4 separate regions of the Homo sapiens genome follow, and all the other regions are linked to region 4. Evidence: promoter capture Hi-C in human tissues and cell types (Jung and others, 2019). All regions are on one chromosome and are shown on one strand. Each heading gives the region's core, a stretch centred on a gene start or on the middle of the fragment in contact. The rest is flanking DNA. Distances are from core to core; before and after follow the strand shown.

What was found. The method cuts DNA at HindIII sites, captures the fragments that hold promoters and counts their contacts. A contact is called where the count stands out against the background at its distance.
Region 1: a contact is called between a fragment that was not itself captured here and the fragment with the promoter of MIF in region 4, in 1 of the 25 tissues and cell types used here (lymphoblastoid cells).
Region 2: a contact is called between a fragment that was not itself captured here and the fragment with the promoter of MIF in region 4, in 1 of the 25 tissues and cell types used here (spleen).
Region 3: a contact is called between a fragment that was not itself captured here and the fragment with the promoter of MIF in region 4, in 4 of the 25 tissues and cell types used here (bladder, dorsolateral prefrontal cortex, mesenchymal stem cells and 1 more).

What each region holds. Positions count from the first base shown.
Region 1 is chr22:23,569,632-23,572,670 of GRCh38, reverse strand. All of the region lies in intron 2 of LOC105372957 (a long non-coding RNA gene), which reads right to left. Among named protein-coding and RNA genes, the nearest start is that of IGLL1, 9.1 kb to the left of the region's middle. The HindIII fragment of the contact is 9,559 bases long and covers 1-3,039 here.
Region 2 is chr22:23,551,956-23,555,157 of GRCh38, reverse strand. No RefSeq gene overlaps it. Among named protein-coding and RNA genes, the nearest start is that of PCAT14, 15 kb to the right of the region's middle. The HindIII fragment of the contact is 7,531 bases long and covers 1-3,202 here.
Region 3 is chr22:23,534,070-23,537,259 of GRCh38, reverse strand. LOC124900476 (endogenous retrovirus group K member 5 Gag polyprotein-like) reads right to left here and starts at 379. Exons shown (of 2, transcript XM_047441690.1): 1 at 124-379. RefSeq lists enhancers at 193-809, 1,425-2,041, 2,042-2,657. The HindIII fragment of the contact is 4,075 bases long and covers 1-3,190 here.
Region 4 is chr22:23,892,802-23,895,642 of GRCh38, reverse strand. It overlaps MIF (macrophage migration inhibitory factor), which reads right to left and starts at 1,260. Exons shown (of 3, transcript NM_002415.2): 1 at 1,061-1,260; 2 at 699-871; 3 at 420-603. The coding sequence starts at 1,168. The coding sequence ends at 537. MIF-AS1 (MIF antisense RNA 1) reads left to right here. Exons shown (of 3, transcript NR_038911.1): 3 at 111-1,933. RefSeq lists enhancers at 1-777, 778-1,585. The HindIII fragment of the contact is 32,419 bases long and covers 1-2,841 here.

The DNA.
Region 1 (3,039 bases), core at 445-2,944, 320 kb after region 4:
CACTCCAACACCATCAAATTCATGAGCTCTTACATTTTGGGCCCACCTTGATTTTTCACCTGACAGCAGGTTCAGAGGTGTGAGAAAAACAGGAGGAAGCCAGGAAGGAAACACACATGAAAGGCCTGCAAGAGGATCAGGACACTTTCAAAAAATAGGCTCTGAGCTCCCCAGGAACCAGTGCAAGAAGGGTAATAGGTGCTCCATCATTTCTTTCTTTTTTCTGTTTTTTTTTTTTTGTTGTTGTTGTTGTTGTTGTTATTGTTGTTTTGAGACGGAGTCTGGCTCTGTTGCACAGGCTGGAGTGCAATGGTGCAATCTCGGCTCACCGTAACTTCCGCCTGCCAGGTTCAACCGATTCTCCTGCCTCAGCCTCCCCAGAGTTGGAGATGGGGCCTGGTAGGAGGTGTTTGGTTGGTGGTGGATCCCTCATGACTTGGTGCCATCTTCCTGATACTGAGTGGGTTCTCGTGGGATCTGGTTGTTTAAAAGTGTGTGGCACCTCCCTGTCAACTCTCTCTTGCTCCCGCTCTGGCCGTGTGAGACACCTGTTCCCCCTTCACCTTCCGTCATTATTGGAAGCTTCCTGAGGCCTCCCCAGAAGCTGAGCAGATGCCAGCATGCTTCCTGTACAGCCTGCAGACCCGTGAGCCAATCAAACCTCTTTTCTTTATAAATTACCTGGTCTCAGGGTTTCTTCACAGAAATTCAAGAATGGACTGATACAGACATTAATCTTATTAGTAAGGGCAGAGCCTCTCACCTCTCCAATGCCACCACCTCATAATACCATCACATTGGAGATTAGGTTGCAACCTGAATTTTGGTGGGATGCAAGCATTCAGACCATAGTACCCTATCTCCAAATACAGACACATACTGACGAACTGGGGTTAGGACTTCAATGTATGAATTTGGAGGAGCACAATCCAGCCTGTAACATCTGTTTTGGCTTGGGCTCCCTGCAAGCAGGCCTCAAAGAAAGGCTGTTGTACTTGGAGCTTGTTTGGGACGAGTACTCCCAGAGGCAAGACTGAGGGATGGGGAGGGGGAGAGCAAAACAGGAGCAGCAAGAAAACCAATGCAAAGGCCAGGCACAGTGGTTCCGCCTGTAATCCCAGCACTTTGGGAGGCCGAGGTAGGTGGATCACTTGGATCAGGAGTTAAGAGACCAGCCTGGCTAACGTGGCAAAACCCCGTCTCTACTAAAGATACAAAAATTACCAGCCTGGCCAACATGGCGAAATCCCGTCTCTACTAAAAATACAAAAATTAGACGGGTGTGGTGGCGGGTGCCTGTAATCCCAGCTACTTGGGAGGCTGAGGCAGGAGAATCACTTGAATCTGGGAGATGGAGGTTTCAGTGAGCCGAGATCACACCACTGCGCTCCAGCCTGGGTGACAGAGCAAGACTGTCTCAAAAAAAAAAAAAAAAAAAAAAAAAGCCAATGCAAACGTACATTGCTGAGTTCACCATTATGGAAGCCGGGGTGCCAGATCCCGCAGGATCACCGGAGCTGCCTTACAAAATGCATCTCAGAACCATCCGCCAAGGGGAAGAAAGGAGAGAGCATTGCTTCCAGGGCTCTGCCGCCTTTGAGGAAACGCTGGCCTGTAGGGTGTTCATGCCTTTGCACTTGCAGTTGAGCGTGTGTAACTGCTGAGTGGGTTACTGTGGAGGGGTGGAGGTTGGGGGATCCCACACTGTGGCATCAGCAAAGCCCCGGACTGGAAGCGAGAGGCAAGCACAGGGGCCTAGGGCAGGCCATTGTCAGCTTTCTGCCACATGGAGCTTGTCACAGCCTGCGAGGTCTGTTTACTGCACCTGGGCCTGGATTAGGAGGTGAAGCCAAGAGGTCTGAAGCCATTCAGGCGAGCTGCTCAACACAGTGCCCACCTGGCAGCATTCAGCCCCGCCCCTGCCACCAACTGGGTCCACCCATCAGAGGCCCCTTTGAGGTGCTGGCATCTGCAGTACCTGCAAAGACTTCATGCTAGAAGGTGACCGAGAAGAGCTTAGAACCCACCCTGAGTGGAAACCCCTTTCTTTACATGTTAGTCCTGGTCCTTGGCAGAAAGACCCCAGTGTAACAGATGTAGTCACAGGTTTGAGTTCAATGAGATCCACGCTGTGTCCAGTGGAGCCCTCCTGTACTTCCCTTCTCCCCTGCCCCCTCTCCCCTCTCCCCTGTCCCAGATAGCTGGGGCCTCTCATCTGACAACCCTAAAGTTGCAGGGACAAGAAGCACAAATCCACAAGGACACTGGGGCATGGTGGGTGGGGGAGTGGGCAATCCTATTTTTTTTTTTTTTTTTTTGAGACAGAGTCTTGCTCTGTCACCCAGGCCGGACTGCAGTGGTGCTATCTCGGCTCACTGCAAGCTCCGCCTCCTGGGTTCACGCCATTCTCCTGCCTCAGCCTCCCAAGTAGCTGGGACTACAGGCACCCGCCACCACGCCCGGCTAATTTTTTGTATTTTTAGTAGAGACAGGGTTTCACCGTGTTAGCCAAGATGGTCTCATCTCCTGACCTCGTGATCTGCCCACCTCAGCCTCCCAAAGTGCTGGGATTACAGGCATGAGCCACCATGCCTGGCCGGGCAATCCTATTTCTACAACTTGTCCCTGGACCATGTGTTCCAGCTTCTGGGGATGCAGCACCTGGCACTGGCTGTTGGCTCTGTGCTCGGGGTGTAGCACAAGCTGGCTGCCCCTACGTTCCATCAGGCCCAGGCTCCAGGGTGAGACTGGTGGGCATCACGCTCATGTGCTCACTGGGATCCTCCCTCGCCATAAACTGTGTCCCTTGGTCTGGGGCCTGGGTGGGCAGGATCCCACATCTCCAGATGGGGCATTCAGAGCTGCATTCTGGATGCAGTGGAGGCATGGAGATCTGTCAGGCGGCGCAGAACTGCTGCCGTGGCTGGACTCTGAGGCGAGGACTAGAAGCACGAGGGTTATAGAAGAGGGGGATGCTGCTCACAGGGCTCAGTGTGCAGATACAGAGAGGGCTCAGCACAGGATCTAGCACAGTGGGTC
Region 2 (3,202 bases), core at 531-3,030, 340 kb after region 4:
TGCCTCAGGCCCTTGTACTTTCCAGGGCTCCGAACTTGGGTGTTATCCACCCACCTGTCTACAACCTTTTTGTTCGTGATGAAATGGGGGCTTAAAGTATTGCCCACCGCATTGTGTTGCCTTGACATTGAGACAAGATCTCACATGCGAAGGGTTCAGCACAGTGTGTGGCGTAGAGTCACAGCACTGGTTCGTTTTTTTCTTTTTCTTTTTTTTTTTGATACGGAGTCTCACTCTGTTGCCCCGGTTGGGGTGCAGTGGCATGATCTCAGCTCACTGCAACCTCCGTCTCCTGGGTTCAAGCAATTCTCCTGCCTCAGCCTCCCAAATAGCTGGGACTACAGGCGCGAGTCACCATGCCTCGGCTAATTTTTGTATTTTTAGTAGAGACCGGTTTTCACCATGTTGGCCATGGTGGTCTCAAACTCCTGACCTCAAGTGACCCGCCCATCTCAGCCTCCCTAGATGTTAGGATTACAGGCATGAGCCACCGCACCTGGCCAGTACTGGTTATTTCAACGTCTTTCCTGTGGGCAGGCAAGCTCTGTGAGGCCACGGAGGGCATTTTCTCCATCTTGGGATTCATGGAGTCCAGGGTGGGGCATTTCCCAGGGTGGACCCCAGGTGGACAGGTCTGTGGGTGGCTTGGGCTCTGCTGCTCTGCCCCTTCCCTGGAAACTGTCCCCACTCTGAGTGCCTTTGCTGGCTGTGCTGTGGGGATAGGGCCTCATGTCCCTCGAGGGGGCTTCCATCTGGAGTGAACGGAGCCAGTGGGGCCCACAGGGTGAATGGGCAGTGCTGGGGGCAGATGTACAGTCAGGAGAGAGGGACTTTGACCTTCAGAACACCATCGGCAGAACTTGGGGCCTTTCCAAGGGGGGCTGCCTCCATTCCATCCCCCAAGGGCCTGCCCAGCATGGGGGGAGCAGGGCAGGGTGCCCGGGAGGCATGAGGACTGGCCCCAGCTGCAGCACTCGGCGAGAATCTCTTGAACTCTCGGCTGCACCGAAAGGCGAAGGCAGCGGGGCCCTGGAGATGGTCTCCATGACAACCGCTGCCACTCACTCCGCATCTTGGATGTAAATTAGTTACAATTTTATTAGTGTGCAGAATTTCAAGAGTCCAGATCCTGTCTTGGAAGGGAAAAGGAAGGTGGGGGGACAGAGGAGTTTCCGAAGCTTCACATCCCCACAGGGACCCCAAATCCAAGGTGGATCCATGGACAGTGAATTGGGCCATGCACCCTAATTCATCAGCCCTGGTCAGGCTCTCTGGAGAGAAGGAAACACATAGGACTGTTCCCGCTCTTCTGGCCACCTCCTCACAGCAGCCTGGGAGCACCCCCTCCCCAGTCGACAGGAAAGCAGCTGAAGGCCATGGGGGTCATTAGCTGGCACAAGGGCACCCACTCACCAGGAGCCAGACACTTGCTCTCCCACTCTGCCCAGCAGCCCTCCAAGGTTGGTTAAGGTTCACTGAAACACTGCTGGGCACCACATAACCAGGTGAGGACATCCCCAGGGGTTTGGGCGTCTGGACAAACACCAGGCCCTGCTTGCCAAGAGTCAGCATGTAGAGCTACTATCCTGTGGCTGGAGGTCGTGTGTTTGTCCCCTCTAGCACTGGGCAAATGAGGCTGGTGACACCCGAGTCACAGCAGCGTTTGATGCTCTGAATCATGTGTGCATATACACATGCACACACAGATTTTTCTCTAAGGAGGGAATAAAGGGACAGATTTGTCTCTTCCCTAAGGCCATTGTTAAAATTAGTTGTGTTCTCCCAAGGCGCAGCCCACCGTGTGTGTCCCTGAGGTGGCTCTACTCCCTCTGCTTTGGGGTGAGCCACAAGAGAGCAGGCCCCAATGAGGTCATGGGCCAGCAAGGCCACCAGAACTCCCCATCTGTGGCTGGCACTGAGGTGGACACTGAGAAGTTGGTACTGCAGAGGCAGGGCCAGGTGCAGGAGGAGAGGGTGTGGAGTGTATCAGGGCAGGTCCCACACAGGTGTGAGTCCCTGGGCCAACAAAGAGGAGAAAAAGCAGGCCTGGCTGAGAGAACAGCCTATATTAAGGCTTAGAGGCATGACAAAGCCTGAGTGAGGGCTTGGGGCATGGGAGGATAAGAGAATGAACAAGGAATAGAGGAGAATGAATGGAGACTGAAGGGAGATTGATGGGAAGGTGGATGGGAGGATGGATGGAAAAATTGTTGCAAGGGTGGATGGGAGGATGGATGAAAGGATGGATGGGAGGATGGGGGAGAATGGATGGAAAGATGGATGAGAGGATTGATGAGAAGATGGATGGGAAGATGGCTGAAGGATGGATGGAAAAATGGATGCAAGGATGAATGAAAGATGAATGGGTGGATGGATAGAAAGATGGATGGGAGGATGGGTGGGAGGAAAGATGAAGGATAGATGGGAAAATGGATGGGAGGATGCATGGGAGGATGGACAGAAGAATGGATAGGAGAATGGATGGAAAGATGGATGGGAGGATGGATGGGAGGATAGATGGAGGATAGATGGGAAGGTGGAGGGAGGTAGAAGAGAGGATGGATGGAGAATGAATGGAAGATTGATGGGAGAATGGATGAGAGGGTGGACAGAGGAATGGATGGAAGATAAATGGAAAGATGGATGGGAGCATTGATGAGAAAATTGACGAAAGGATGGATGAAAGGATGGATGGGAGGATAGAGGGAGAATGGATGAATGGGAGGATGGATGGAAAAATGAATGGGAGGATGAATGAAGGATGGATGGGTGGATGGATGGAAAGATGGATGGGAGGATGGATGACAGGATGAATGAAGGATAGATGAGAAAATGGATGGTAGAATGCATGGGAGGATAGACAGAGGAATGAATGGGAGGATGGATGAAAAGATGGATGGGAGGATGGATGTAAAGATGAATAAGAGGATGGATGACGGGATGAATGAAGGATAGATGGGAAAATGGATGGGAAGATGCAGGAGAGGATAGACAGAGGAATGAATGGGAGGATGGATGAAAAAGATGGATGGGAGGATGAATGAAGAATAAGATGGAGGGAGAATGGATGGGAAGATAAATGGAGAATGGATGGAAGATAGACGGTAGGGTGGATGGGAGGATGGATAGAGGGTGGACAGAGAAATAGAGGAAAGATGAATGGAAAGAAAGATGGGAGGATTGATGGGAGGGTGGATGGGTG
Region 3 (3,190 bases), core at 56-2,555, 360 kb after region 4:
ACCCTACCCTGAAGGGGTGGCCTGCCCCTCCACACCTCTGGGTGTTTCTCATCAGGTGGAATGAGAGACTTTACTTTTAGTTTGCCCCATTAACCCTGGCTTCTTCCGAGCGCCCAAGCTTACCACAAGGCTCACTGTAGACGTACTCGGGAATCTCTCGTTGACTTGTCCTCAATGACCACACTCGAGAGTCCCTTCACCCTAGAGAAAAGCATCCACGTTGGGCACCAGATGGAGTGGCCTGCGCCTCCACAGCTGTGGGCATTTCTCCTCAGGTGGAACGAGAGACTTGAGAAAAGAAAGACAACAGAGACAAAGTATAGAGAAAGAAAAGTGGGCCCAGGGGACCGGCGCTCAGCATATGGAGGACCCGCGCCGCACCGGTCTCTGAGTTCCCTCAGTATTTATTGATCATTATCTCTACCATCTCGGAGAGGGGGATGTGGCAGGACAATAGGGTAATAGTGGGGAGAGGGCCAGCAGGAAAACATGTGAACAAATGTCTCTGCATCATAAACAAGGTAAAGAAAAAAGTGCTGTGCTTTTGATGTGCATATACATAAACATCTCAATGCCTTAAAGAGCAGTATTGCCGCCAGCATGTCCCACCTCCAGCCCTAAGGCAGTTTTCTCCTATCTCAGTAGATGGCATATACAATCAGGCTTTACACCAAGACATTCCATTGCCCAGGGATGAGCAGGAGACAGATGCCTTCCTCTTATCTCAACTGCAAAGAGGCCTTCCTTCCTCTTTTACTAATCCTCAGCACAGACCCTTTACGGGTGTCGGGCCAGGGGACAGTCAGGTCTTTCCCTTCCCAAGAGGCCATATTTCAGACTGTCACATGGGGAGAAACCTTGGACAACACCTGGCTTTCCTAGGCAGAGGTCCCTGCGGCCTTCCGCAGTGTTTGTGTCCCTGCTTACTTGAGATTAGGGAGTGGTGATGACTCTTAACAAGCTTGCTGCCTTCAAGCATTTGTTTAACAAAGCACATCCTGCACAGCCCTGAATCCATTAAACCTTGAGTCAACACAGCACCTGTTTCTGTGAGCACAGGGTTGGGGCTAGGGTTACAGATTAACAGCATCTCAAAGCAGAAGAATTTTTCTTAGTACAGAACAAAATGGAGTCTCTTATGTCTATTTCTTTCTACATAGACACAGTAACAGTCTGATCTCTCTTTCTTTTCCCCACACTAGCCAAAGGCAGTCCTTGTCCCACAGGGGCCCAGGAAGAATGTCCTAGTAGATGGCAGTGGCAGAGGGAGGCCCTAGAGGTACAGCAGTGGAGGGGACATGAAGCTGCTCCTGAGCTGGACCTGGGCGTCCTCTAGTTCATCCCAGTGTGGGGTTTTGAACTGTGCACTCTGTCAGCAAAGAGAATTTGGAGACAAATAGAAGAGGGGCTCCAAGGTAGTGGGAGAAGCTCAAGTGAGCATTTACTCAACAGCCTCCACCACCAGAATCTTTCTCAGGGGCTGAAGATGTGGTGGGTGGCACACAGCGTCACACAGGACACACAGGTCCTGCGGAGGAGACGCGGTACCATGAGATACGAGGAAACACAGACGTCAGGAGAAGACAGTGGTGGAGAGCGAAGTGCTCCAGGCCAGAGCCTGTGGCCTCCAGCTCCCCTTACAACAGCCCCCAGAGGCCGCCCCCAGTTTGTGGGTAAGGAAGCTGAGGCCCGAAGACCTGAATCAGTGACCAGCAAACATCGAGGCAAATTTGAACAGAGGCTCAGCCTCAGTGGGCGGCTGCGAGCTGCTGAATTGTGACTGAAGTGGCACACAGGGACAGGGACGGTGCTCAGGGCCGGCCTCTCATAGGGCTTTTGAGCTGGGGCTCGATGGACCAAGTCTTGGCTCTGGGCTGGGCACACGGCTTTTTGGCAGGCATCTCACTTCTGGGTAGCCTGCCTGTGGCTCCATTCTAGCGACCAGGAGCCTGAGGCCCACAGAGCTTACGGAGCAGCCTGAGTTCTCAGGGCTGGGGAGAGTAGCCAGGGGCTCAGACCTCGCCGTGCCATGCTGGCCCGTCCACCATGCTGCCCTGTTCTCACACGGCCAAGTGCTCCCAGCACACAGGAGGAGTCCAGGCGGGAAAGGGATGGAGGATGAACGTGACCAGGCCTTGCCTTCGGAGGGGTGAAGGTCTTCCCAGTGTCCCCCAGCCCCCCTGCCCACTCCCAGAGGGACGGCCCTGCAAGCGGTGGCCACCAGGACCTTGCAGGGGGTGAGGGTCCAGGCTGCCGAGGAACCAAGGAGAGGCCGCCCTCGCTTCCCACATGCCCGGGCCCTGGGTCCCTCAGCCTCCCGCTGGCCTTGCCACCCAGCTCTCACAGACACTGGCTCAGGAGCAAGCAGGAGACCCCTGGGGTGACCTGCCAGACCTGCTGGGCCCAGGCTCAAACCCTGCAGCCACTCCCGGCCTGGCCACTCCACCATGTCTCCCAGCCCCATCTCCCTCTTGAGGGCCACGTCTCTGGGTTTTGTGAGGCTGAATTCTTCTCAGCTCTCAGGTGTTAAGACTGTCTCCTCAAAGAGGCCTTCCTGAGCCCCCGCTCCATGACTATCCTGCCAGCATTCTCTCTTCCTCGGGTGGCTGTGGGTTTGTTCCTGCCCAGGTGGAGTGGGCTACTTCCCGCCACGCTGTCCCTCTACCCTTAGGATCCAGGGCAGACCAGTGGGGGCGGGGGGAGTTTCGCCGCAGATGCTAGTGACTCCAGGGGACAACCCAGGTCCCTTCCCCTCTGGGGTGCTCTGAGTCCTGAATTGACTTGGAATGTCCAGGCCCAGCCCTGGCTCTGGGCCCTGCTAGATCACTGGTGGGTCTTCTCCAAGGAGCCAGGCCCCAGCCTAGGCCCACCCTTCCAGTGACGTGAACAAAGGGAGGGTGGGGGCTGCTGTCTGGAGCAGGCCTGGAAGGGGAGCCCACTGCTTAACCCTGACAGCCCCTGCCAGACTCCCCAGGATCCAGTAGTGGAGCAAGGGGGTGGGAGGGGGCAAGGGGTGGGAGGAGACCAGCTTAGGTGCTCAGTCCCTTGGTGGTCTGTGCCTCAGAGCCCCAGGGACACTTTTCCACCCCTCCCCCACCCCCCTTTCTCCTGCCCTTCCTCCCTCCCTTCTTCCTCCCTGTCCTGCCCTCTTCCTGCCCTTCCCTCCCTTGTCCCTCCCGCTCCTTATCTC
Region 4 (2,841 bases), core at 11-2,510:
AAGAAGGCTGGGGAAGGTGGGGCTGAGAGAAAGGTCTAGGCCTAGAAGACCTCGGACTCCTCCCAACTCCAACTCCTCCTCCCCCTCTTCCGTGGTCGGCTCACCTCCAGCACCCCACGTGGTGGCCCTAGGTACAACGGATTCCGGCGGGCAGAGCGCCTTAGATCCCGAGTCTGCAGCCCAGGGCAGAGTGCCAACTTCTCCTCATCCCTTCGTACGCCATAGAATGGAAAGACACTGGGGCTCCTCTGTTAGGAGCGTAGGAGGGACAGGCTGGACAAAAGGGCTCCCGAACAGCAGGTTCGGAGGAGAGCAACCCGGCCCTGACCCCCGCCCCCAACACCGTTCCCGACCTCGCTCCCCAATATCCCGGCTCTGCACCAATTCCTCCCGCAAGCCAAGGAACCCCGAGGCACTCCTAGTCTCTAAACCGTTTATTTCTCCCCACCAGAAGGTTGGGGTGGGCGGGCCTAGAACACAGCGTGCGGCGGGTTCCCGGGTGGAGCCAGCGCAGACAGCGTGGGTCCCTGCGGCTCTTAGGCGAAGGTGGAGTTGTTCCAGCCCACATTGGCCGCGTTCATGTCGTAATAGTTGATGTAGACCCTGCGGGGGGAGGAGGCCGGACTCAGCGGGTGGCTCAGTCCCGGGCCTGGCCGCGCGCCGCCGCCCCTCCCCCGCCCCTCCGCGACTCCGCGTACCTGTCCGGGCTGATGCGCAGGCGCTCGGCCAGCAGGCCGCACAGCAGCTTGCTGTAGGAGCGGTTCTGCGCGCCGCCGATCTTGCCGATGCTGTGCAGGCTGCAGAGCGCGCACGGCTCGCTGGAGCCGCCGAAGGCCATGAGCTGGTCCGGGACCACGTGCACCGCGATGTACTGCGAGGAAAGGGCGCGGTCAGCCCGCCCCAGCGACCTCGTCGGGCCCCGAACGTCCACTTCGGGCCCGAGCCACCGTCCTCCCCCCGCCCCGCCCCCCAGCTCCGTTCAGGAGTCGCCTCCCCAGCTCCCAGCGCGGAACCCCTCGTCCGGTGGGCACCCCCCTCTTCCTGTCCCCTCCCGGCAAACCTGGGGGGGCTTGCCGGTGGCCTGCGCCAGCTGCTGGGTGAGCTCGGAGAGGAACCCGTCCGGCACGGAGGCGCGGGGCACGTTGGTGTTTACGATGAACATCGGCATGATGGCAGAAGGACCAGGAGACCCGCGCAGAGGCACAGACGCACGCGCCGCGGCCGCCGCTGAGCTACGTGCCTGACTTCTCGGACACCACTGTGGTCCCGCCTTTTGTGACGCCACCGCCGGCGCCAGGCCCCGCCCCCGCGAGGCTGCGGCTCCGCCCCGAGTGGGGAAGTCACCGCCTGCCTCGGCTCGACCCCCGCAGGGCAGGACCCTGGGCGACTCCGCCCGTTCCTCCAGCAACCGCCGCTAAGCCCGGCGCACCGCTCCAACCTGTTCTCCACTTGGCGGCTAGAAATCGGCCTGTTCCGGCCTCGCCTCGGGTCTTTCTTAGTCCTTTCACTAAGTCACCGATGTTAGTCGCCAGGAGGCGCTGTGCCGGGGGTGGGGATGCGGCGGTGAACCCGGAAGATGGCCCCTTACCCTTCCAGAGATGAAGCCCAGTTCATTCCACTGCACGCACTGAGCCCCTGTACCTCCTGTCTTTGGGCCACATGTCCTCAAGGGCTCCAGTCCCGCATGCGTGAGCTTGTGTGTTTGAGATGGGGCGGGGTAGTCATCGCGGCAGGTGAGAGGGGAGCTGCCCCTGCGAATCACCATCCAGGGAACTTCCCTGAACCCCTGCTCTTTAAAGAGGATAGGATGCTGGGAGGCACCGAAGGGAAGGAGGCGAGGTCCAGAGCAGGTTCAGTGGTTCAAACGTGCTCAGCTCCCCTTCTCTGGGCCTCTGGGCAACTTCAGCTCCTCAGGGAAGCCACACCCTAGTCAGGTCCACCGTGTATGGCCTCTCATAGAGCCCTTGGTGAATTTCTTAAATGTCTTTTCCACTAATGGTAAACTCGGGGACCATCTAGCAGGTGCCAGGCATACAAGAGACATTGACTAATACTGCTGAATGAATGAATGAATGAATGGGTGAAAGAAGATAAGCCATGACATAGCAGGAAGAGGACAAGGCAGCAACTGGATCACAGGCCAGGTCCTCAGAGATTTCCAGGGAGGTCCTGTCCTTGGTCTCTGATAGGTGCAATCCATATACCAGTCTCAGTGAAGGCCATGTGATATAGGAAGGACACCCATGCCTGTGGGACCCTCGTGGCACCAGCCAGCCTCCAGCTGGGAGGCCCCATGGCCCATTTATACAAATAGCCTATGGGTATTGGTTCCTGCAGCTGGGCCCCAGACTCTTTCCCTCCTGGTGTCACACCTTCTCTTACCTGTGCCCAGGGCTCCCTAACTGATGGCACTCCATACCATGTCTCCAGCCAGGGGCACTCCCCTAAGTCCCAGGCGCTGACAGCAGCTGACTGAGTGTCCACTGCTCTGTAAAGTCCAAATGTATGACTTGTCCTCCTACACCTCATCACCTGCCAGTAAAATATGCTTCCTTTCACTATCCCTTTATTCCCACTTCTCTCCATTCCCTGAACTACCGCCTAGTCTACACTACCTGCATCCCCTTTGGCCTGGACCACTGTGACTTCCCTATGGTGGACTGCTGCTCCTCAAGGGAGGAGTCTGTTTCCAGCCCCAGGCAGCAGAGTTAGCCCCGACTCCCTGTGCCCTATGAAAGCTGAGCAGAATTACATAAGTCACTCCAGGCAGAAGACTGAAGAGCCAGGGCCTGGTTGACCTGTGCCCTGTGAACCTGAATGACAAGGTGCAGCCTCGCCAGC